Regions from separate parts of the Homo sapiens genome. Here regions 1, 2, 3, 4, 5 and 6 are each linked to region 7. Evidence: promoter capture Hi-C in 16 types of primary human blood cells and fetal thymus (Javierre and others, 2016). All regions are on one chromosome and are shown on one strand. The core of a region is centred on a gene start or on the middle of the fragment in contact, and the rest is flanking DNA. Distances in the headings are between cores, read along the strand shown.

Evidence for each region. The method cuts DNA at HindIII sites, captures the fragments that hold promoters and counts their contacts. A CHiCAGO score of 5 or more calls a contact.
Region 1: a contact is called between a fragment that was not itself captured here and the fragment with the promoter of CD302 in region 7, in 1 of 17 cell types (neutrophils). The highest score is 5.2, in neutrophils.
Region 2: a fragment that was not itself captured here is called in contact with the fragment with the promoter of CD302 in region 7 in 1 of 17 cell types (monocytes); the score reaches 5.1 in monocytes.
Region 3: a fragment that was not itself captured here is called in contact with the fragment with the promoter of CD302 in region 7 in 1 of 17 cell types (neutrophils); the score reaches 5.9 in neutrophils.
Region 4: a contact is called between a fragment that was not itself captured here and the fragment with the promoter of CD302 in region 7, in 1 of 17 cell types (monocytes). The highest score is 5.2, in monocytes.
Region 5: a fragment that was not itself captured here is called in contact with the fragment with the promoter of CD302 in region 7 in 1 of 17 cell types (neutrophils); the score reaches 6.5 in neutrophils.
Region 6: a contact is called between a fragment that was not itself captured here and the fragment with the promoter of CD302 in region 7, in 1 of 17 cell types (neutrophils). The highest score is 8.6, in neutrophils.

What each region holds. Positions count from the first base shown.
Region 1 is chr2:159,438,084-159,441,441 of GRCh38, reverse strand. It overlaps BAZ2B (bromodomain adjacent to zinc finger domain 2B), which reads left to right. Exons shown (of 37, transcript NM_013450.4): 7 at 2,230-2,433; 8 at 2,747-3,139. Among named protein-coding and RNA genes, the nearest start is that of WDSUB1, 150 kb to the right of the region's middle. RefSeq lists an enhancer at 2,504-3,358. The HindIII fragment of the contact is 3,347 bases long and covers 108-3,358 here.
Region 2 is chr2:159,366,053-159,369,618 of GRCh38, reverse strand. All of the region lies in intron 27 of BAZ2B (bromodomain adjacent to zinc finger domain 2B), which reads left to right. Among named protein-coding and RNA genes, the nearest start is that of WDSUB1, 81 kb to the right of the region's middle. The HindIII fragment of the contact is 2,630 bases long and covers 450-3,079 here.
Region 3 is chr2:159,393,732-159,396,793 of GRCh38, reverse strand. BAZ2B (bromodomain adjacent to zinc finger domain 2B) reads left to right here. Exons shown (of 37, transcript NM_013450.4): 20 at 960-1,025. Among named protein-coding and RNA genes, the nearest start is that of WDSUB1, 110 kb to the right of the region's middle. The HindIII fragment of the contact is 8,269 bases long and covers 1-3,062 here.
Region 4 is chr2:159,326,376-159,329,651 of GRCh38, reverse strand. All of the region lies in intron 34 of BAZ2B (bromodomain adjacent to zinc finger domain 2B), which reads left to right. Among named protein-coding and RNA genes, the nearest start is that of WDSUB1, 41 kb to the right of the region's middle. The HindIII fragment of the contact is 4,193 bases long and covers 1-3,276 here.
Region 5 is chr2:159,413,219-159,416,528 of GRCh38, reverse strand. All of the region lies in intron 13 of BAZ2B (bromodomain adjacent to zinc finger domain 2B), which reads left to right. Among named protein-coding and RNA genes, the nearest start is that of WDSUB1, 130 kb to the right of the region's middle. The HindIII fragment of the contact is 3,642 bases long and covers 132-3,310 here.
Region 6 is chr2:159,455,753-159,458,854 of GRCh38, reverse strand. All of the region lies in intron 3 of BAZ2B (bromodomain adjacent to zinc finger domain 2B), which reads left to right. Among named protein-coding and RNA genes, the nearest start is that of BAZ2B-AS1, 160 kb to the left of the region's middle. The HindIII fragment of the contact is 5,013 bases long and covers 1-3,102 here.
Region 7 is chr2:159,796,855-159,799,937 of GRCh38, reverse strand. CD302 (CD302 molecule) reads left to right here and starts at 1,730. Exons shown (of 6, transcript NM_014880.5): 1 at 1,730-1,806. The coding sequence starts at 1,740. All of the region lies in intron 33 of LY75-CD302 (LY75-CD302 readthrough), which reads left to right. LOC124906083 (a long non-coding RNA gene) reads right to left here. Exons shown (of 2, transcript XR_007087273.1): 1 at 1,986-3,083; 2 at 1-1,119. The HindIII fragment of the contact is 1,931 bases long and covers 448-2,378 here.

The DNA of each region.
Region 1 (3,358 bases), core at 532-3,031, 360 kb after region 7:
CTATTTACACATGGCCAAAGTATGCTCGGCAGAGACTCCCTGCATCAGAATCACATTAAGTGCCCTGTCTAGAAGTGGGACTCAGGAATGTTATGCACCCTAAAGCTTCAGAACCAGTACCTCTGGATGACTGTTCCTGGGGAGTATAGTCCCCATTTCTCATGCCATCTTTAAATAAAAAGCTACACACTTATTCCTTGGGCATTTAAATAGGAGTTAATTTTTCTCTGCTAAATCACTGTAGCTCTCTTATTTCTTTTCTTTGTTATCCCTTACTAAAACAAAAATGTTAATTTCAGTTTAGGTACCTTATGATTTTCGTGGTCTTGCTATACATGCTTAGAAAACTACAACAGATTTTGGTTGCAAAGAAGTAGCTGTTTCTTTGACAAATAAATGGTAGTCTTAATATTAATATATTATTATTTTCCTTTAATCTCTCTACCTTGTGATCTTTCTCATTGTGTGGGTACCCATACAATTCCAATTCAGTTTCTCGTTCCTGTCTGCCCTACTTTGAGGGAAGAAAACTCAAGAAATGATGGGAACTATTAGTCTGCTTATTGAAGTGTGTATCTTTGAAAGAGGCCTTCTTGTAACTAGTTTGGAGCAGTTAAAGCAGAGTCATTGCAAGGCCAGATGTGGTGGCTCACACCTGTAATCCCGGCACTTTGGGAGGCCGAGGCGGGTGCATCATGAGGTTAGGAGTTCAAGACCAGCCTGGCCAAGATGGGGAAACCCCGTCTCTACTAAAAATACAAAAATTAGCGTGGTGGCAGGCGCCTGTAATCCCAGCTACTCAGGAAACTGAGGCAGAGAATTGCTTGAACCTGGGAGGCAGAGGTTGCAGTGAGCTGAGGTCGTGCCACTGTACTCCAGCCTGGGCGACAGAGCGAGACTGTCCCCGAAAAAAAAAAAAAAAAACAAGAGTCATTGCAAACGGAATATAATGGCGGGAGTGACTCTCCTCACTCATATGAATGTTACCTGAATCAATGTTCAGAAGACACAATAAAAAGACTACAGATTTGCAATCTGTAACCGTGGCTTCAATTTGGCTCTCTGTTGTGGAGATATATTACTGTATTTCATTCCCCAATCCCGAGTAGTCATAAAAGGATGTATTTCTGTTAAGATCATAACTTTTGTAATTTATTGTTATTTTTTCTATATTTTGTTCTTTATCAGCAAATGCCATTAAAATGTTCCTAGATTGTACTTAATCTTGTGGCTCCATCATTTCAATGTTTCTCCTTTTCAGTCTTTCTATTGGTGAAATTTTAACTTTCCCATTGTTAAATAATTATGAATATTTTCAATAATCTACATGACAGAGCTTGTACTTTTTATTGAGGAGTTCTTTTATAAGTTAATTGATTGGTTTGTTAATTTGTTATAATACATCTCATGATTTTTCCTCTTTTTGTCCACTACTATTATGTTTTCTTGAACACAAAACTTCACTTTTATGTGACCTAATAACCACTTTCTACCAGCTTTGGATTTTATTTTTCTTGCAGAGTCTTAAATGTTCCAAAAATAAATCTCTCTCGTCATATTTATCTACCTCATCTTCTACCTTTTTTTTAATATTTTCTGAAATGAAACATAAACAGTTAAATTCCTTGACCCTAACTAAAGCAGCCCCATAGGTCTTTTGCTACCCTACTTTATCTTCTCTACAGCACTTATTATTATATGGAATAATTTGCTTTTATATTAAGCATTTGTGTACCCTCCCCTATCACCAGCACTAGTAAGTTTCTTGAAGGCAAGGACTCAGTCTTGGACATACCCAGAAAGGTGTGTGTGGCATGTTATAGGTAAATGTTTGGCTACTGACTCACTGTCTGCAAAAAGAAAGAAGACTAAAGCTAAATGTGTAACTTTTGATGTATGTATCATAGTTGGAATTATTTTGTGAACTGATCTTTTTAATCTGTCATACATTTTGAAGAATAACAGTCATATGAGTACATCTACACATATGCTATATTGATATTTTCAATATTCTACATGACAGAGCTTGCACTTTTCATTGAGGAGTTCTGTCATGTAAGTTAAGTTGATCAGTTTGTTAAATAATTATCCTTACGATATGTGACTTTTTCCTACAATGACATTTTGAGATTGAAAATATCATTTGAAAATTAAAAAGAGTACACCTTTTATTGAAACTTGAATGTTTTCCAAAAATAAAGTCTTGCCAACTACCTTGTCGTTATCCAGAAACCAAGGAAGAAAGCAATGGAAAGTTCTAGCAACAGTGATAGTGATTCAGGCACATCATCAGACACCTCAAGTGAAGGCATTAGTAGCAGTGATTCAGATGATCTAGAAGAAGATGAAGAAGAAGAAGATCAAAGTATTGAAGAAAGTGAAGATGATGATTCTGATTCAGAGAGTGAAGCACAACATAAAAGTAACAACCAGGTATAATTTTTTTCATGGACAGTATCCAAACATTATTCATATTTAGGAATTAACTGGTTTATCTTGACTCTCAAAGTCTGTAGTTTTAAAGTTAATCATTACTTTGAGTTCATACTTTTGCCCAAGAAAGAAGATGAAGAAATGTTTTTAAAGGGACATACGGTATTTCTTTTACGAATTTTTAGATTTTTAGATATTATCATAAGGCATTAAGAACACTTTGAAAGTACCCGTTTTTATCTCCAGGTTTTACTGCTTGATAGTCTTTGTCTTAATAGATGTTAGGAACTTACCTTTTCATTTTTATATCTAGGTGCTATTACATGGTATTTCAGACCCAAAAGCAGATGGACAGAAAGCAACTGAAAAAGCCCAGGAAAAAAGAATACACCAGCCATTACCTCTTGCGTCTGAATCCCAGACTCACTCATTCCAATCCCAGCAGAAGCAGCCTCAGGTTTTGTCACAGCAGCTTCCATTTATTTTCCAAAGCTCTCAGGCAAAGGAGGAATCTGTGAACAAACACACCAGTGTAATACAGTCTACGGGATTGGTGTCCAATGTGAAACCTTTATCTTTGGTAAATCAAGCCAAAAAGGAAACTTACATGAAACTCATAGTTCCTTCTCCTGATGTTCTTAAAGCAGGGAATAAAAATACCTCTGAAGAATCTAGTTTATTGACCAGTGAATTGAGATCCAAACGGGTGAGTTACAAATTATTTATACAAGAATTTTACTATTAGAGAAAGATAGAGCTTCTATATTGTCTTACAATACACAAGTTTAAGTTAAATTCTACCTTCATTTTTATACTTTCTTAGTCTCCAGGAATAGAATATGTACAGCAGAAAACTAAATTTCTCTGATTTTATATTCATATATGTATCTGTTTAATGTATTTTTGGCAATGCAATCATGTCATT
Region 2 (3,566 bases), core at 515-3,014, 430 kb after region 7:
TAAACTTGAAGTATCTAGGACATCAACTTTCCTTCAAAATACCTGAAATCAGTCTCTTTGCAACACTACTGAAATCAGTTCTTTATCATTGTATACCTGGATTATTACACCTGTCCTCAACTTCTCTATATACAATTCCCTCCTTCCATCACATTCTGTCATCATATCATGTCTCTACTCTGAAACCTTAAATGACCTCTATAACCTGTAACATGATGTAGTTAAATATGTACTTAGCCTGGCATTCAAGACTGTATACAATTCTGACCCCAAGCTGTCTTTATGCTGTTCTGTTAATGAGAATTCAACTAGTCCAGTCTACTCACTGAACACATGTGTATTCCTCCCCTTGCATCTTTGCCAAATCTTGTTTATTATAATAATAATCTGCTTTTCTTCTACCATCGAAATTTCACCCATCCTTCTTGATCCAGCTCAAATCCTAAGCTTTTCCACAAACTTCCCAGCTTATTTAAGTGGACCTTTTAATAAACGTGAAATTGAACTCCCAGAAAAGCAGATAATTAATTAGACCATTATTTTAGCACATTAATATATATACTATTTCCTTATTTAAATCTTATAATCTTCATCTGTGCTTTTAATTTTCCATAGTGTTGGAAGGATAGTACTTTATATATCACAGGCACACTTAAAATACTTTAAGATTTAAATAAGTAAATAAATAATTTAATGTCTTTATAAGGTTTTATAAGAATAGCTTATAGGAGACAGTTTTTTTTTTTTTTTTTTTTTTTTTAGGCCTTTCAGATTATCATTGATTGAATTTACATATTAGACCTCCATTTCCATCCAGGCTCTTCTACATAACCTCTCTGGACACTGATTTCTGTTTCTGCAAAAAAATATTAATAAGCTGTATATGAATTCTTCGATTGTTACAAGGATCATGTCAGATAATGGATCTAAAACAACTGCAAAGTGATATATAAATAGCAGTTGTACTTTATACTCTTATTTGTGGTCATTGCAGAGCAGGGGGAAGTAGGGATAATTTTTCACTTTATTTTCTTCTGAAGTTTTTTATTTCATTAATAGACATATTAATAGACATTAATGAAATAATAAGGGAATATACGTCTGCTGTATTCTATGTGCTAAGAACTTATAAATAATAGGTATAGATTCCTTCTCTTTATCTTACAGCTAATTAAAATGAGGAAAAAACTCAGATGATTTATTCATCAAGTGTTTATTTACACCTGTATTGTGCCTTGTACTAAGTGCTGTGGAGATGCAAAAGAAGACCAGGTGCACTGGTTCATGCCTGTAATCCTAGCACTTTGGGAGGCTGAGGCAGGAGGATTGCTTGAGCCCAAGAGTTCACAACGAGCCTGGGCAACGTAGCAAGACCTTGTCTCTACTAAAATCACATATATATGGCTGACTGTGGTGTGCACCTGTAATCTCAGTTACTCAGGAGGCTGGCATAGGGGGATCACTTGAGCAAAACAAGATGCAAAAGAATCAGTTAACCTGTCCCTATCCACAAAAAGCTCACAATCTAATTGGAAAGATACAGCACGTATGAAGACAAAGAGAACATACAAGTGTATAATATGAGCACGTAGTGTGTCTGACAGGCAAGGCTGATAAAGATCAGTAAGTGTCAAACTAGTAGAAACTACTGTAAATAAATGGGTGCTGAAAGTTAATTCAACATTAACAATATACATTATTGTCATCATCTTATTTATTACTTTTTTTTTTGAGACAGATTCTCACTCTATCTCCCAGGCTGGAGTGCAGTGGCGCGATCTTGGCTCACTGCAAGCTCCACCTCCCACTTTCACGCCATTCTCCTGCCTCAGCCTCCCAAGTAGCTGGGACTACAGGCGTCTGCCACCATGCCTGGCTAATTTTTTTGTATTTTTTTAGTAGAGATGGGGTTTCACTGTGTTAGCCAGGATGGTCTCGATCTCCTGACCTCATGATCTGCCTACCTCGGCCTCCCAAAGTGCTGGGATTACAGGTGTGAGCCACTGTGCCCAGCTGCTTATTTATTACTTTTTAAAAGTTCCTTAAAAGTATAATGTGTTCTTAATAAAGAAAGGTTAGATTTAACATTAAATGTACAAGTTTTTAAAAAATTCTTATAATAACATTAACATCAATTAATATTATGGGGAGAAGATATCAGACATTGGATTACCTTCACAGAAAAATATTAATTAAATTAAATTCGTGTTGTACAAGAGGCAAGGTAATATATACCACAAGCATTACACACAGTGCTAATAACAATAATGTTTATTGGTGATGATAACTTCAGATAAGTAACAGAGCACTCAGGGGATCTCTGAGCCCCTACAGTGGTTCCACAGGGGTGTGCCTTGTCCAGTTAGAGACTGGACAAGAAACAAGATCACTCAAAGAGAAGGCTCTGCCTTCATACCACTATATATTTCGAGGTTAGTCCAAGTCCTTCATTATTCTAAGAAACAACATATATCTCAAAGGACCTCTGGGCCTAGGAACAACACTAGGGAGTTTGCATTACAAAGGACCAGGATCTACAAACCAAGGACTTTGAGAACAGCAGCTAAAGACCCTACTGTTCCTCTGCACATCAGCTCGGTGGCTAAGCAGGTTTGCTGATGGGTCTTGGGAACAAGAGAAGGAAGAGAGCCCCCATGCCCATTTAGCTAAGACTGAGGGTTTATTCCTTCTCAGTCCACCCCCTGACCCTTGGTGTGGCTCACTAGATATATGCGTCCCCATCTGCAATAGAAAGCAATTAGATTTTAAATGGTGCCTTCAGTGTTTGTTGACAGTGCTGAAAGAGTCATATAGCCAGAGAAATTCTAAAACAAACAATATACCACAGCATTAGGAGATACAGAGCTCCCATGAGCAATCTGGCTGCATATCCAACAAAAAGTCCAAAGCTATGCAATTCTCTAATATTACTCATGTCAAGGAAGCAATACTAATTTCAGTGATATGATCCCAGGCTTTCTCAATGGCAGCGTTTCCCATGATAGCAATTGCTGGTCATATCCTCAGCTTCGTAGGTGACTATTCAAGGCAAGAGCCCTTGTACAAAGTAATGAAAGCTTGTATCCTTGACACCTGCAGATAGGCTCTAATGCTAGCCCTGGAGACCACAGCTGGAAAAGTGACCAGTGTCTTAGATTTTGAGTCACTATTAAAGGTCTCATAGTACTTCCAAAATGTGCAGTGTTATTTACAGGTGGGAGGCAGGGTAAGCATGCCTTTCACATAAGACGACAGGTTCCACTGGATTACAGAGGTTTAATGCTACATTTTATATCCACTTGGCATTTATGTTTTTCTGGGGTTAACACACTGTCGGCATGCTATTAGACTCAACTGCAGGTCTGAAGTGGAAGTATTTGGTTGAGAGTTTTATGCTGCTTTGGGGTTCTCCTAATGTGGGGCATGGATCCACTGGGAGCCGAGATGTAAGAGTAGGTGTTTTCTGCACCTGAGAAGTTGAGTAGAGTTTTACACAGCATGACTAGTAAGGGAAGAGTTAATGGAGGGCCAGGGCAAATGAGAACTCTGGTTAATACCAGGTAGGA
Region 3 (3,062 bases), core at 534-3,033, 400 kb after region 7:
AGATATAATTATGACCCGTATTCTCCCATCATTCTAGATGCAAAACTGCCATTGAATACAGTGGGAATTTTGAGTTTGTTTGATGAGAGAATATGAAATATATTCTGGTTTCATAGACAAATTTTAGAAATAATTTTAGAAATATCCCTTTGGAGAAACCAAATATGCTTAAACAAAAAAATCGATGAGATATTATAAATAAGTGATTTTTTTATTTTAAAAGTAAAGTGAGAATGTCAAATTAAACTAGTGCTTACCTTATTTTCATACTGTGCCTTTAAGATTCCACCTGTGAGCCCATGGTGCAGCTTTTGTGGCTTTAAATAGAGTATCAGGTGGCAGACATCAGTAAATAGGAATATCCCATTTCATTGGTGGTGTATGTGAAACAAGACTAGTTTAACTAAATTGGTATAAAAGCCTTAAAAAAACTCTAATTTATTGGTGGCTTATTGGATTTGCAAAATGATTTTGTACTGAAAATAACCTACTCTAAAATCATGAAGTTAAAGTGACTATAAATCAATTTCTTCCTGATCTAAAATTTTAAGAACAACACAACCGTTAGTTTAATTGGCCATAGTATTTGTGGTTTTTCTAATAGCAGATGTAAGGTAACTGACCTGTTCCAGCCAACCATTATGCTTTTTGTTCTGCCAGCTTTTGAAGGAGCATCACAACTGACCATAAGTAAATCTTGTATGCTTCTGTTTACACTGTCTCCATGTTCATTGCTTTACCTTTTTGCTTTTGATTGTTGTATTTGCTTTCTAAACCTGAACTAAAACATGCACAGACTGGCCATTCTTGTCTTATATTTAGTATTTACTGTGACTTGTCTATAAATGCTAAACATGCTATACTGAGTTTTTGTTTTGTTTTTGTTTTTGTTTTTTCATTGGAAAATCAAACTGTTAATTGTGGCTGAGTTATTTTCCACATTTTATCTGGCCTAATAGGAACGAGAGCGAAGGCGACAACACATGATGCTTATGAAAGCTATGGAAGCTCGTAAAAAAGCAGAAGTAAGTGTATGTTTCTAGAAAAATATTACCTTATAAAGTAATGCTTTTTCCTAAAGCATTGGCTCTTCTAAATATAAATTTTTCAGAATATAGGTTTGTTGTGATTTACTGGTTTTCATATGCAAACCAAAAGTTTAGAGATAGCAACTGAGTGTTAGAACATAAAAGAATGTAGGAAGAGTTCCAATGTATGTGTTAGTTTTCCTGGCTAAGATTTTAATTGTCTTTTTTTAGTGTAGTAAATAACATTGGTTTAGATAAAAGTAGCTATTTATCACACCAGAGTTTCACAAAACTAGTATTACAGCATGCCTAGACAAATCCTGTATGTCCTAATTCAAACACAAATCATTCCGACCATGGATTTCTGCCCTAAGAATTATTCTTTAGCATTCTCTATGTAAAATTAGGCTAAGTACTTTTCTTAAAATAACTTTTAACAAATAATTCAGAATAAGAAAATTATTGCAGTACAATCAGAATGAGCTTATTTGGAGGTTAATAGAAATCACTTAAAGGTTGAAATAGATATATGTTACAAAGGAATAACATTCTGTATTGAAACAGTTGAATAGAGTCATTATAACTGGGGCTTTGGAGGTTGAAAGACACAGGTTCCCCTGCTGGTTCTGCCACCAATTTGCTTGACATTTTCAAGCCATTTTTTTAAAATTGAGATGATACCTACCTCCTAGGTATGGGATTTTTGAGTGAGATAAGCATTTAATAAGTGAGAATTAATGAAAATGACACTGTTTGATCTAGAAGCTGGGAGGCTGTATTTCAGTATTTTGGTTTCAGCTCTAGCTTAAATTAGCAATATAGGTTTTTGATGTGTAGAGAAAATAGGTGTATTGTTTTGAAACCTGTGCAAAGTAGCCAGATTATCTGAATTTGAATTCTGGTTTCATTACTTTCCAGCTATATGACCTTGGGCATGTTATTTAACTTCTCTGTGATTCATTTCATCTATAAAATGAAGATAATACTGAATTCTGTTTTGTAGGGCTGAAGAGATGAGTAAATGGATATGTGTCTCTGTGTATGTAAAGTTCTTGGAACAGTGCCTGGCACCACATAGTACTTAACCATTGATACTACGTATGTGTAGAATGGGCCTAGCAAGATGCATCCCAGGTTGCGAACTACTGACATAGAGTACCTCTTAGCATAGACTTAACATAGCATGTAACATATATTACAACAATCACTTTCTGTGACGTTTCCTAAAGGTTATGGAAGTTTTACTCCAACACTTTTCCTGCTGTCTTTTTTTCCCTAACCTTTTGATTACCCAGGCCTATTGACACCCTCTATACCTAACATAATAATTGAATCTATACATCTGTGCGTGGAATTGTAACCATAATCTCTGAAAAATGACAGTCAGGGAAAGAGAGAGGTAACGTATTCCAGGAATTGGCATGGCTGCTCTCTATTCGCTTATGGAAACAGTACAGTGAAGGGAAGAGTAAGGAAGGGGACTAATTAAAAGCCTGAACACTGAACCTAATTCTCTCAATCTGGAGAGATGGAAATGGAGGGAGCAATTAGTAGCTCAGGGAAAAGACCTAGAAAATCCCTCAGGAGACAAGTTCTTCCCTACCAATCATGGGTTTTGTTTTGTTTTTTTTTTTAATCAGAAGGAATAAAAAGAACCAGGGCTTGCCATTCTGGTTTTTCTTGGCAGGGAGGAAAGCTAACTAAAATAACCCAGAACGTTATCTTTAGGCATACTAGGCTTCATTAGAAGAGAAGATCCAGTAAAATAGTAAGAATGAGATCATCTGAGAGGGGGAATGCCCAGGTGAAAGAGGCACCCCAAAGGCCTCAGAGACATGAACCCTCCCGCTGGTTTTTCATATTTGCCCACTAGGGCCTGGGGAGAGTGGGGGAAGCTGCTGCAGAGAGGTGAAGGAGATCTGGGTTGAGTGGAGGGTGGTAGCCACAGGATAAATACAGCTGATGAAAATGAGATATTCTAAGAATCCATCAAAGCCCAAGAGCACCTCTCAAGAGGAAAAGGATATACTCTTG
Region 4 (3,276 bases), core at 734-3,233, 470 kb after region 7:
TTTAATTCATAGTTATTTAAAAATATTTATACTATACATACACCTTGCTCTCAAGTGGCTTTTTCTGCATACATTATCCTGATTAACTGTTTTTACTCTGCGTGTATGTGTGTGTGTATGTATGTATATATGTGATCACAGGATCACAGAATCGAAAAGATGTGTATGTGTTTGTGTGTGTGTGCATATATATACAACATAGCTATACCCCAGTATCTGCAAATCTGCAAGGGATTAGCTCCAGGATCCACCATGGATACCAGAGTCACAGATGCTCAGGTTCCTTATATAAAATGGAATATTATTTGCATATAACCTACACACATCCTCCTGTATACTTTAAGTCATCTCTAGATTATTTATAATACCCAATAAAACTATGCAATAAATACCCAATAAATGCTATGCAAATAGTTGTTAGACTATATTGTTTTTTATTTATTATTTTTTAATTGTTGTTTTGTTATGAGGGGGTTGGATTTTTTGCTTTATATTTTCTTTTTTTTTTTTTTTTTCCTATTAAGACAGAGTCTCACTCTGTTGCCCAGGCTGGAGTGCAGTGGCACGATCTTGGCTCACTGCTGCAACCTCCACCTCCCGTGTTCAAGCGATTCTCCTGCCTCAGCCTCCTGAATAGCTGAGATTACAGGTGTGCTCCACAATGCCTGGTTAACTTTTATATTTTTAGTAGAGATGGGGTTTTGCCATGTTGGCCAAGCTGGTCTCGAACTCCTAACCTCAAGTTATCTGCCTGCCTCGGCCTCCCAAAGTGCTGGGATTACAGGCATGAGCCACTGTGCCCGGCCTTTGTTTTATATTTTCCATCTGCAGCTGGTTGAATCCACAGATGTAGAACCTGCAGATATGGAGGGCCACTTATATGAATATACACTCTTAGATACACACACACATACACACACAAACTCACATATTAGACATTTCAAACTTCAGTGCCTACAAAAGCCAAGTAAATGACATGAAAGAGTTCATTGGACCCCTCATGGGCACTGTGGCAAACAGGGGAGTCATGGCCCTATTTAAATTTAATAGTCAAAGCTCAACTCCACCCAATTGTTGCCATGTAGGAATGTGGGCCCCATGTTCCAGAACCCACTAATATTTCAAGGGAAGTCAAGACTATGGATTTTTATGTCCTCCCAAATATTAAATATTGGAAACAAATTCAGAATTTTTACAAGCATTATATGAACCAAATACATTCTGTGGCCTGTTTGGAGCCGGTGAGCCACCAGTTTGTGACTTCTATCAATATATAAACTAGAAAGATATGTACCATTGTTCATGAAATCTGATAAGTTTTGCTTAAGACCCACTAAGTTCCTCTTTGAATTTGTACTCTAGCCAAGAAAAGGTGATGGGGGTTGGGGGAATGCCCTGCCCAAGAGCAAAGTAATCAGGTAACAGAGTAACTTGATAAAAGTTTGCTTTTAAAGTATGTGTAGGTGCACTATCTAATGAGATCATCAGCTGACACACATCATTTTTTGTCTTTAAAAAATCACAAGTTTTTTGATTCTGTGATTTCAATTTCATACTTTCTTTTTTTTTTTTTTTTTTTTTCGTTTTGAGGCTGAGTCTCATTCCATCACCCAAGCTGGAGTGCAGTGGTGTGATCTCAGCTCACTGCAACCTCCACCTCCTAGGTTCAAGTGATTCTTGTGCCTCAACCTCCTAAGTAGCTGAGATTACAGGTGTGCACCACCACACCCAGCCAATTTTTGTATTTTTGGTAGAGACGGGGTTTCACCATGTTGGCCAAGCTGGTCTCAAACTCCTGACCTCAGGCGATCCGCCCCCATTGGGCCTCCCAAAGCGCTGGGATTACAGGCGTGAGTTACCGCGCCTGGCCCAATTTCATATTTTCTTATTGTGAATATTAATTTGTTAGAAAATTATCCCAAGTAATATTTTAGTTCAAATAGAAACTAAATGTTTTGGCCCACTATTCATAATTCCAGCTCTGTTTTAAGTAACACAGTTATTTAATCTAACTTGTCATTAAATGGACTTTTTCTTCATTATATTAAGTTCTCCTTTTTAATGATTTTAGAGATTCAGAGTAAAAGCTCAGTGTAATATAAAAACCCAAAATAATCAGATTTTAATGAATATAAATAACTAAATGGAGAAGAGACTGAATAAAACATATTAATTATTTCAGTTAGTGACAGGGGTTGTGATTCTTTGATATCATATGGTGAAAGTGTTGGATTTATGGTTTGCCTTATTTAGTCAATTAAAATATCTCCTTAACTATACTTTAACCTGCCAATAAAGAAACAAATAATTTTAACTGCTTAAGAGCATTTTTAAGTAAGGTACTGGCAGGGGTCATGAAATCCTCAAAGACAATGCTATGAAATACTCCAAAGGACTGTTTTTCAGCCAATTTTAAGAATACAACCAACTTTATTAGCCAGGCATGGTGGCTCACACTCGTAGCCCCAGCTACTCGGGTGGCTGATATGGGAGGATGTCTTGAGCCCAGGAGGTTGAGGCTGCAGTAAGCCATGATTGTACCACTGCACTCCCAGCCTGGGCAACAGAGCGAGACTGCCTCAAAAAAAAAAAAAAAGATTGCAGCCAACTTTAAATTATTGCTACACTGATTATGTGACTTTGCAGTCTAGGATTTCTTAACAATCTGGTTAAGGGAATAGTAGTTTTCTAAAAGTGTTTGGTGTGTACCACATATTTGGAAAATAAAAATAAAAGCCATACGTTGCCAGAAGTTTACATATCTTTCTTTCATGATCTATTATATTTATTATAACATTTAACTCTCAAAAGGCAGATTTTTTTTCTCTATGAATACAGGGTGGGGCACCCTTCTTGTTGCATCAGTGTGCTGCCTGCAATTTGTAGTTATATTGCATAAGACCATGTTGAGAGTTCTTTTTTGCATGTAATTCTAGAGCTAGAATGACTTTAGCAAGTATGTGGCTTGTCATCCTTATTTTTTAAGTGAGAAAACAGGGCCTCACAAATATTTTTGCTTAAAGTTAGTAGCAGAGCCATAGCTGGAATTCATATCCTTCGATTCCAAGTATAATGTCCTTTATGTCATTTCTTTCTATGTTGTTTTTCTCAAAAACAGACATCTTTTTGCCCCATCTTTCACCACTGCTTTGTTCACACCTGGGAACCACAAGTTTGTGGAACTCTCTTCTTATTGCAAATACCTGTTATCTTTTATCCAGGAAAAAAAATCAAATCAATTTCTAGTAGATTTGATCACTTGGACTTCTCTATTTG
Region 5 (3,310 bases), core at 703-3,202, 380 kb after region 7:
ACTTTTAGTAGTCACTCTTCTCTTCCAAGTATCATGAATGTTACCTTTATATTTTACAAGTTATATGATACATGCTGCCTTGGTGCTTAAGAACATAATAAAAAAATGAAAACCTAAACTAATCAAAAGCTTCCCATGCTGGTGAACATAACCTGACATAAAACTATGCTGATATCTTCCTTTTTAGTGGCTTATGGCCTAAAAGTACACTTTGTACAACTATTGTTCCTATTGACTTTATTTGGAATCTCAGCAAAAAATTTTCATTTTCCTCAGAATTAATTTTTAAAATTATCTTTAAGATAAGAATTACTGAAAGGAGTTAGTATAGATGTTATTTTTAGCATATGTATATATGAACATATGCATTAGTTTTTTTCTGACGGTCTTTTCTTGACATAATCTTGGCTGTGCTTTCATGGCTAAATGTTATGATCTGTCACTTATCAGGTATAAGAACATCTTTATAACATCAAGTACCCATAGTGGTCAGGAGCACAGGTTTTAGAGTGAGACAGTCATGGGTTTGAATCACAGTCTGTTCTTTGCTGTCTATTCAACCTCACTCAGCCTGAATTTCCTCAATTGTAAAGACGATAAAACCCACCATATGAGATAGAAATGTTGTGAAGATTAAAGTGTATAGTCTATTCAAAGTATCTGGAACAAAGCACAATACTTAGAATGTGAGATGTAGCTATTATCCATAATCACGTACAATTTAGTACCCATTAACTGCGATATTCATAGACTTCTTGCCCCAGGTTAGGCAAATCATGTTATAACGTAAAACTCAAGAACTTTGGGTTATTTTTGGTTGCACAGTTTCTTCTAGTGACTCAACCAAAATTTCTACTTTGAGGATATTTTTAGAGAAAAACACGTTTTAAAAATTTCCTTAACCTTCATACTGAAGGAATTAACTCTTAAAAAGAAATAATAAGACAATTATTTTTAAAAGATGTCTCCTATATCTGAACATATTATTTTGGACTATAAGGTAATATAACAGTGTATTTGTTTTGATTGACACATGCAGGATACATGTATTTATGTGCTAAGCAGTATTTTTTTTTTTTTTTTTGAGACGGAGTCTTGTTCTGTCGCCCAGGCTGGAGTGCAGTGGCGCAATCTTGGCTCACTGCAACCTCCACCCCCTGGGTTCAAGCAATTCTTCTGCCTCAGCCTCCCAAGTAGCTGGGACTACAGGTGCACACCACCACGCCCGGCTAATTTTTGTATTTTTAGTAGAGACGGGGTTTCACTGTATTGGCCAGGCTGGTCTTGAACTCCTGACCTTTTGATCTGCCCGCCTTAGCCTCCCAAAGTGCTGGTGTTATAGGCATGAGCCACTGAGCCCGGCCGCAGATACACTAGCATTGTGTTGGCATGTGCCTCCACTAGGAGGCTTATGATGAGAAATCTCAAATATATACAGAAATAGATGGACTGATAATATAGACCTTGTACCCATCATAAGTTTTAGGAATTATCATTTTGACCAATACTGTTTTACATATACCCTCATCTACTTCTCCCTTCCAAAATTTGTTGAAGGAATGGTTCCATTTGTGTCTCTAAAAGATAAGGACTCATAACCACAGTACCACTATTATACTTTTAATATATAATTTCTTTTTAATTTTTTTCATTGTTGTGAGTACATAATAGGTATATATATATGGGGTACATGAGAATATTTTTTTTTTTTTGAGGTGGAGTCTCGCTCTGTCACCCAGGCTGGAGTACAGTGGTTCCATCTCGGCTCACTGCAACCTCCGCCTCCCGAGTTCAAGCCATTCTCCTGTCTCACCCTCCCAAGTAGCTAGCACTACAGGCACCCGCCACCGTGCCCAGCTAATTTTTGTGTTTTTAGTAGAGACGGGGTTTCACCATGTTGGCCAGGCTGTTCTCAAACTCCTGACCTCAGGAGATCCACCCGCCTCAGCCTCCCAACATGCTGAGATTACAGGCGTGGGCCACCGCGCCCGGCCACATGAGATATTTTGATACAGGCATACAGTGCAAAATAATAACATCAGAGTAAATGGGGTATTCATCACCTCAAGCATTTATCCTTTCTTTGTGTTACAAACAATCCAGTTATACTCTTTTAGGTTTTTTTAAATGTATGATAAATTATTGTTGATTGTAGTCACCATGTTGTGCTATCAAATACTAGATCTTATTTATTTTACCCACATATTTTTTATAACTATTAACCATCTTCACTCCCTTGCCCCTCTCCTCTCACTATCCTTCCCAGCCTCTGGTAACTATCATTCTGCTCTCTATCTCTGTTGAGTTCAATTGTTTTAATTTTTGGCTCCCACAAATAAGTGAGAACATGCAAAACTTACCTTTCTGGGCCAGGCTTATTTCACTTAACGTGATATTCTCTAGTTCCATCCATGATGTTGTTGCAAATGAAAGGATCTCATTTTTCTTTATGGCTGAATAAGTACTCCATTGTGTAGTGTATGTTTACCACATTTTCTTTATCCATCTGACATATGGGTTACCTCTAAATCTTGGCTATTGTGAACAGTGCTGCAGCAAACATGGGAGTGCAGACACCTCTTCAGTATATTCATTTCCTTTCTTTTAGATATATACAGAGCAGTGGAATTGCTGAATTATATGGTAGCTCTATTTTTAGTTTTTTGAGCGACCTCCGAACTGTTCTCCATAGTGGTTGTACTTATTTACATTGATACGTTCTTGATATCATCAACTCTCAGTCATTGCTCAGATTTTCAGTTGTCTCTTTATTGTTCAAATTTTCTTAACAGTTTATCTATTTATTTATTTATTTATTTAGAGATGAAGTCTCGCTCTTATCCTGCAGGCTGGAGTGCAATGGTGCGATCTCGGCTTACTGCAACCTCCACCTCCCTGGTTCAAACAATTCTCCTGCCTCATCCTCCCGAGTAGCTGGGATTACAGGTGCCTGTCACCACACCCAGCTGATTTTTGTATTTTTAGTAGAGACGGGGTTTCACCATGTTGGCCAGGCTGGTCTCGAACTCCTGACCTCAGGTGATCTGCCTGCCTCGGCCTCCCAAAGTGCTGGGATTACAGGTCGTGAGCCACTGTGCCCGGCCAGTCCGCGCCCAGCCAGTTTGTCTATTTAAATAAGTATCCAAGTAAGGTCCACAAATTGGGCTTGTTTGATACATATTTTAAGGTTCAGTTAAACTTCCTACAGTTTTCTTACTTCTTGCAACATTTGTTGAAGAAACTAGGTCATTTATAGAATTTCCCACAGAATGGATTTTGCCGTATAGTTTAACTTATACTTCCGTGTTTC
Region 6 (3,102 bases), core at 1-2,500, 340 kb after region 7:
ATAGTTTAAACAGTATAAGCATGTGAAATACTGAAGGAGAAAGCATAAGAGAAGGAAAGAGATAGCTGGACAAAATCTTTAGGAATCTTTTACATTTAGGGGGAAAAAAGCAAAAGAAAATCCAATAAAGGAGATAGTATTATTGAAAGATGTATAGTTAAGAAGAGGATCAAGAGGGTTCCACGACCTAGATCTTAAGGATGATAATGGGTTTTGAAAAGAAAGGACCAGGCCAGGCGCGGTGGCTCACACCTGTAATCCCAGCACTTTGGGAGGCTGAGGCGGGCAGATCATGAGGTTAGGAGATCAAGACCATCCTGGCTAACACGGTGAAACCCCGTCTCTACTAAAAATACAAAAAATTAGCCGGGCATGGTGGTGGGTGCCTGTAGTCCCAGCTACTTGGGAGGCTGAGGCAGGAGAATGGCGTGAACCCGGGAGGCGGAGGTTGCAGTGAGCCGAGATCGCACCACTGCCCTCCAGCCTGAGCAATAGAGCGAGACTCCGTCTCAAAAAAAAAAGAAAAAAGAAAGAATAGAAAAGAAAGGACCAGGCACAGTGGCTCACGCCTGTAATCCCAGCACTTTGGGAGACTGAGGCAGGCAGATCATGAGGTCAGTAGTTTGAGACCAGCCTGGCCAACGTGGTGAAACCCTGTCTCTACTGAAAATACAAAAAAATTAGCTGGACGTAGTGGCACACAGCTGAAATCCCAGCTACTCAGGAGGCTGAGGCAGGAGAATCATTCGAACCCGGGAGGCAGAGGTTGCAGTAAGCTGAGATTGTGCCACTGCACTCCAGCCTGGGTGGCTGGAGACTCCATGTCAAAAAAATAATAATATGAAAGAGGCAGTCAGGAATGCCAGACTTATATAAGAGGTTGAGAATGAAAACAATAAAGATTAGAGGGATCTAGGAATTATGAAAACTTTCCTTTTACAGACCAAGTGGAAGGGAGGCTTGGGGCTTGGCACAAATGTTGAAAGATTCTGAGAAGTGAGGAGGAAGTAGACATAGCAGGTATAGGACGTTTCCTTTAAGGTTAACACAGGAGAGGTATTGATGTATTGAGAGGGAAAGAGACAGACAGGGTAAAGGAGTGGCCCTGGGAGGGGCTGGAGGTGGTGCTGAGAAATAAGGGAATGGAAATGTGAAAATTGTGGTTCAAGGGTGAAACTTTAAGAGTTTAAGATCCTGGAGGTGGTAGGATTCTGTGTGATCAAATCCAACATGTGACCTAAATGGAATCAAGGAGGAATAAAGGGCCAGTGTTAATGTTAACAAATTAGGACCAGGGGTTGAGGAAATAAGGCAAAGGAATCTAGGAACCATAACTGCAAGTTTGCCTAAAGACTCAAGACAGCTTTTTGTTCTGATTGAAAGCCTTTGGAATGAGTCCCATGGATAGGCCTCTTCTGCTTTAAATGAGTAGTGAATTAATTCATTAAAAACATTTATTTTATGTCCGTTATGTACTAGACACTGTTTTAGGTGTTTGGGTTGTATTACTGAGTCCTGTATATGACAGTACCAATTTGTAATACTGAAATATTAACAAACTTGTTTTATACATTATGGTATAAAAATAGTCTTGCACTGTTTAAATTATGCTCAAAACATGAGTTCCTTGAGGTCAGAGATTGTCTTACTCATCCTTGTAGGCCAGTTACTTAAGCATAGCACCTGATGTTTAATAGGTATGTTCATGAAATGTTTGAATTACTGAAACTGTTAAATAACAGAATAATTCTGTAAGATTTTTACATGGAATTACTATCTGTGTTTTGTAAAAGATGGAAGAAAAACAGTATTAAAATTATATATATAGCATTACAGAACTTTTTAATGAAAAAGATTACTTTTTTAAAAATATCACTGAGTTCTAAATTCTTGCTATAAAGGCAAAATATAGTAAAATTGTGAAATGTATTCTTAAATTATTTCCCTTCTCTAGTATAACCTTTCCCGCATGAAACAGGAAGTCTTTCACGTGGGTATTTTTTTAGTGCATGGTATTACTACAATTATGATAAGTGATCTTAGTATACTTTACTAAATATAGACGTGAATCTTTTTCTCACCAGCAAGGAATGGACCTGTAAGACTCAGTCGTCACTAAGGATGCTTTCCATGCTTTAACTATTTTAACCAAGAATTTTAGAAGAAAGAATTAGGAAGTAGAGTTGAAGTAGCCTTGATCTGAACTCCCATCTCTGCATTCTTGCCAGGCATAGATGTCATTCTTGTGTACAGATCTATATTTTTTTCATTTGAATCTGTGATGTATACAGCTCATTTTGCTGAAATTTTCTACTCAGTTGCTTCCACATGTCATTCCTTTTAGAGTTAAAAAAGAACTTTTTGTTGTCAAAGTATGTATCATTGGTTCTTCATTGTTGCCACAAGAGTGATAACTTCATTTATTTACTGCTTATGTTTTCTGCTTGTGAGACTACAAAGTTTAGCTTGTTTGCTTCTTCCCAATAATGAAATTAATGCTGTAACTATGCATCTAAGAATGCTGCTTACTACCAATTATGTATTACTTATTATTTATTACTACCAATTATTTATTACTTACTACCAATTATTACCAATTAGTTATTACAACTAATTGTAATTACAGTTAGTTATTGCAGAAGTGTTTCTATCAGTTTCTAATCCTTGATAATTTCAATTATTCTGGATTTTTGTAATATTTAATATAGCTTTTGTAATTTTGAGGTTACTTCCCTCAAATTTCTTTGTATTAAATCACAACTACATACATGTAATTGATATAATTTAGGAATTGTTATTTGTAAAACATAAATTACAGATGACCCCAAATTCTCCAAAACTGCAATGTTCAGTTCAACTTGCTTACCACACAAATTGATGGAGAAAGAAAAGAACTGATCATAGTATGTTTATAAATAAAACATTTAACAACATTTGAGTCAGGAAGTTGAATTGACTGGTGAGAACCAGAGATTTTATATGTAATAACAAATGAAAGTAAAAACTGGTTTTTATAGTTACAAGCTCATTTTTTTGAGAAACTAGCTGGGTTTCTGAGAATTTGCCAAAAAAAAAAAAAAAAAAAAAAAAACCACAATATTT
Region 7 (3,083 bases), core at 481-2,980:
AAAAATCCTCTGTGTTCCATCTATTCATCCCCTCCTTCTTCCCACCCCAACCCCTGGCAACCATTTATCTTTTTACTGTCTCCATAGTTTTGCCTTGTCTAAAATGTCATATAGTTGGAATCATATAGTATGCAGTCTTTTCAGATTGGCTTCTTTCTCTTAGCAATACATATTTAAAGTTCTTCCATGTCTTTTTGTGGCTTGATAGCTCATTTAATTTTGGTACTGAGTAACATTTCATTGTTTGGATGTGCCATTGTTTATCCATTCACTTATTGAAGGACATCTTGTTTGCCTCTAGGTTCTGGCAATTATGAATAAAGCTGCTATCAACATTCATGTGCAGGTTTTTGTGTGTATGTAAGTTTTTAACTCATTTGGATAAATACCAAGGAGTTGTGATTGCTAGATGGTATGGTAAGAGTACGTTTAGTTTTGGAAGAAGCTTCCAAATTGTCTTCCAAAGTGGCTGTACCATTTTGCATTTGCACCAGCATTGAATGAGAGTTCTTTTTGCTCCACATCTTTGCCAGCATGTGGTCTTGTCAGTGTTTTTGGATTCTGGTATCTAATAGGTATGTAGTGGTATTTCATTTTTGTTTTCATATACAATTCAGCAATGACATATGATGTTGAGCATCTTTTCATCTATTTGCCATTATATAACTTCTTTGATGACGTGTGTATTCAGATCATCTGACCATTTTTTTTAACTGGGTCATTTGTTTTCACGTTGTTGAGTTTAGACTTGATTTTATAGAACTCTTTTGCCAATGACATGAGGCTTAAACAAGCACCCTTGCTTGACCCTGGCTAGTGTTGTCCAGAGGCCCTCATGGGTGAAGTATAATTGCACAGTTTATGCATACATTGTAGCAAACATAGCTTAAAGACTCTTCATCCAGGAGCTGGTAACAGAGAAAAGTTGTCTAAGAGACATAGTCCACTGAAAGGGGTCTTTGAAAAGGAGGATTCTGGCCAGTAGATCCAAAGAAGAAGGCTGGCAAACGCCACCTTAACCAACTGATCCAAGTTAACATCAGTGATGAGACATCGACATCTTGTCCTTCTCGAGCACGTACATCACTTCTGGGGAACTCTTTCCCAAAAAAGCGCAACCTGAATCCAATTAGAAGGAAATGTCAGACAAAATGAAACTGAGGGACATTCTACAAAACGACTGGCCAGTACTTTTTAAATGTGGTTTGATCGTGAAAGAAAAAGAATGACAGAGAACCGTCCTAGATTAAAGGGAGACTAAGGAGACACGACATGCAATGTATGATCCTGGATTGAATCTTGGAACAGAAAAGGACCCTTAGAGGGGCAATTAATGAAATGTGGTAAGTGCTGTAGATTAGCTAATCGCATTATCCCAGTGCGAGTGCCCTGTGTTTGATCACTGCACTGGCGTTATATACAATGTCAATATTTAGAGAAGCTGGCTGAAGGGTTACGGAAATCTCTTGTGCTGTTTTTGCAACATTTTCGAAAGTCCTAAATTATTTCAATTCAAATGAAAAGTTTAAAAAACAAAAATTAGAAGTTCCAGAAGGCCGCGCGCCAGCCGCTCCTGCGGGACGGGACACCCGGGTTCTCCTGGTGGGAGCCCCCAGTGCCGTTCACGTTCCGCCCGGGGGGGGGATTAAACTCGCACGCGAGAAGCACCGCCCCCGCTCCCGCCCCGCCCCGCTCCTCTCCGGCCGCGCAGCCGCTGCCGCCCACCCGCACCCGCCGTCATGCTCCGGGCCGCGCTGCCCGCGCTCCTGCTGCCGTTGCTGGGCCTCGCCGCTGCTGCCGTCGCGGGTAAGCCCTTACGTAGTCCCTCGCCGGGACCGTGCGCGACCGCCTTCGCCCCCTTCCCAACGCACGCTCTTCGTCCCCGCGCACCCGAGGGCGGCCCGCAGACGCAACACCCGGCCGGCCATCCCGCCCTTCCCTGCACGCCCGTCCCCCGTGGGTCCTGGCTCCGGGTCACCTCTCACCCGCCTGCCCTCGGGGAGGGGAGGTGGCCGAGAATAAGGGAGGGCTCTGTCTTCCTCGGAGTCCACATCCTCACCGCAGACCCCACTCCGCGGGGAGGGAACCCCCAAATTAGGCCAGTTGGCCGGAGAACTGAGGGACTTGGAGTCGCACGACGGGCGCCGTTTCAGGGCAATTTCGGGCTGAAATGAGAAGCGGGGACGTTGGTGGCGATTTCCCCTGCTGGTGCGCGGCCGGAGTGGGGTTGCTGGGATGGGGGTGGGGGCCGGAGGAAGTAGGCCCTCTTTTGCAAGCAGCGCTGTTTGTCTAGTTGGTTGGTGTTCAAGTTGTTTAAACAGGAAAACAGTTCAGCCAAATAACCCCTGGATGGAAGAGGAACGGGAATAGGCAAAGCTTGGATTTCACTGAAATCAAGGAGTTTTAAAGTTCTAGTCTGCTGTTGTGCAAGTGACATCTGAAAAATCACACACGTGATCATTCATTTACAAAACGACTCGTGAGGAAAATGCACAATTCTATTGACCGTGGTCTTTATTTTTAAAAAATTTCCATACAAGCATGTCAAAAATATGTGGATGGGGAGACTCTGGAGAACACAGACTTCCAAAAACACCACTGACTGAATAATTCCAGGAATTAAAGAGCAAAATAAACAAGAACTAAATGAGTACTTGTGTGGGCTTAAATAAAGTGCAAGAGATTTAAATAAAATGCAAGAGATTCCCCCCCCCCACCCCTTGCCCCAGATTTCACTGCGTTTTTATAATAACTGCCTGCTCGAAGTCTACTGACAGGAATATTTCAGTGGACCTCAGTGTTGGAGGCAGCAGCAGCTCAGAACTTGGATACAAACCCAAGGTTCCTTTCTTGAAAACTTCTGTGGACCTGCATTTATGACTGGTTGTGACATCTGCTGCCTATCAAAGGGGCAGAAACAAGATGTGCCCATGTTCACATTGTTCAGACTGGGAACATTAATTTTGTCTAAGACAAAGCTGGGCTGTCTCTGAACCCTCCTTCTGCACACCCTCATTTTGCGAGCCAGTAACATCTCAACTCTCATGTAAACCACCCTCTGCGAGGCTGTGCATTTGTACTTT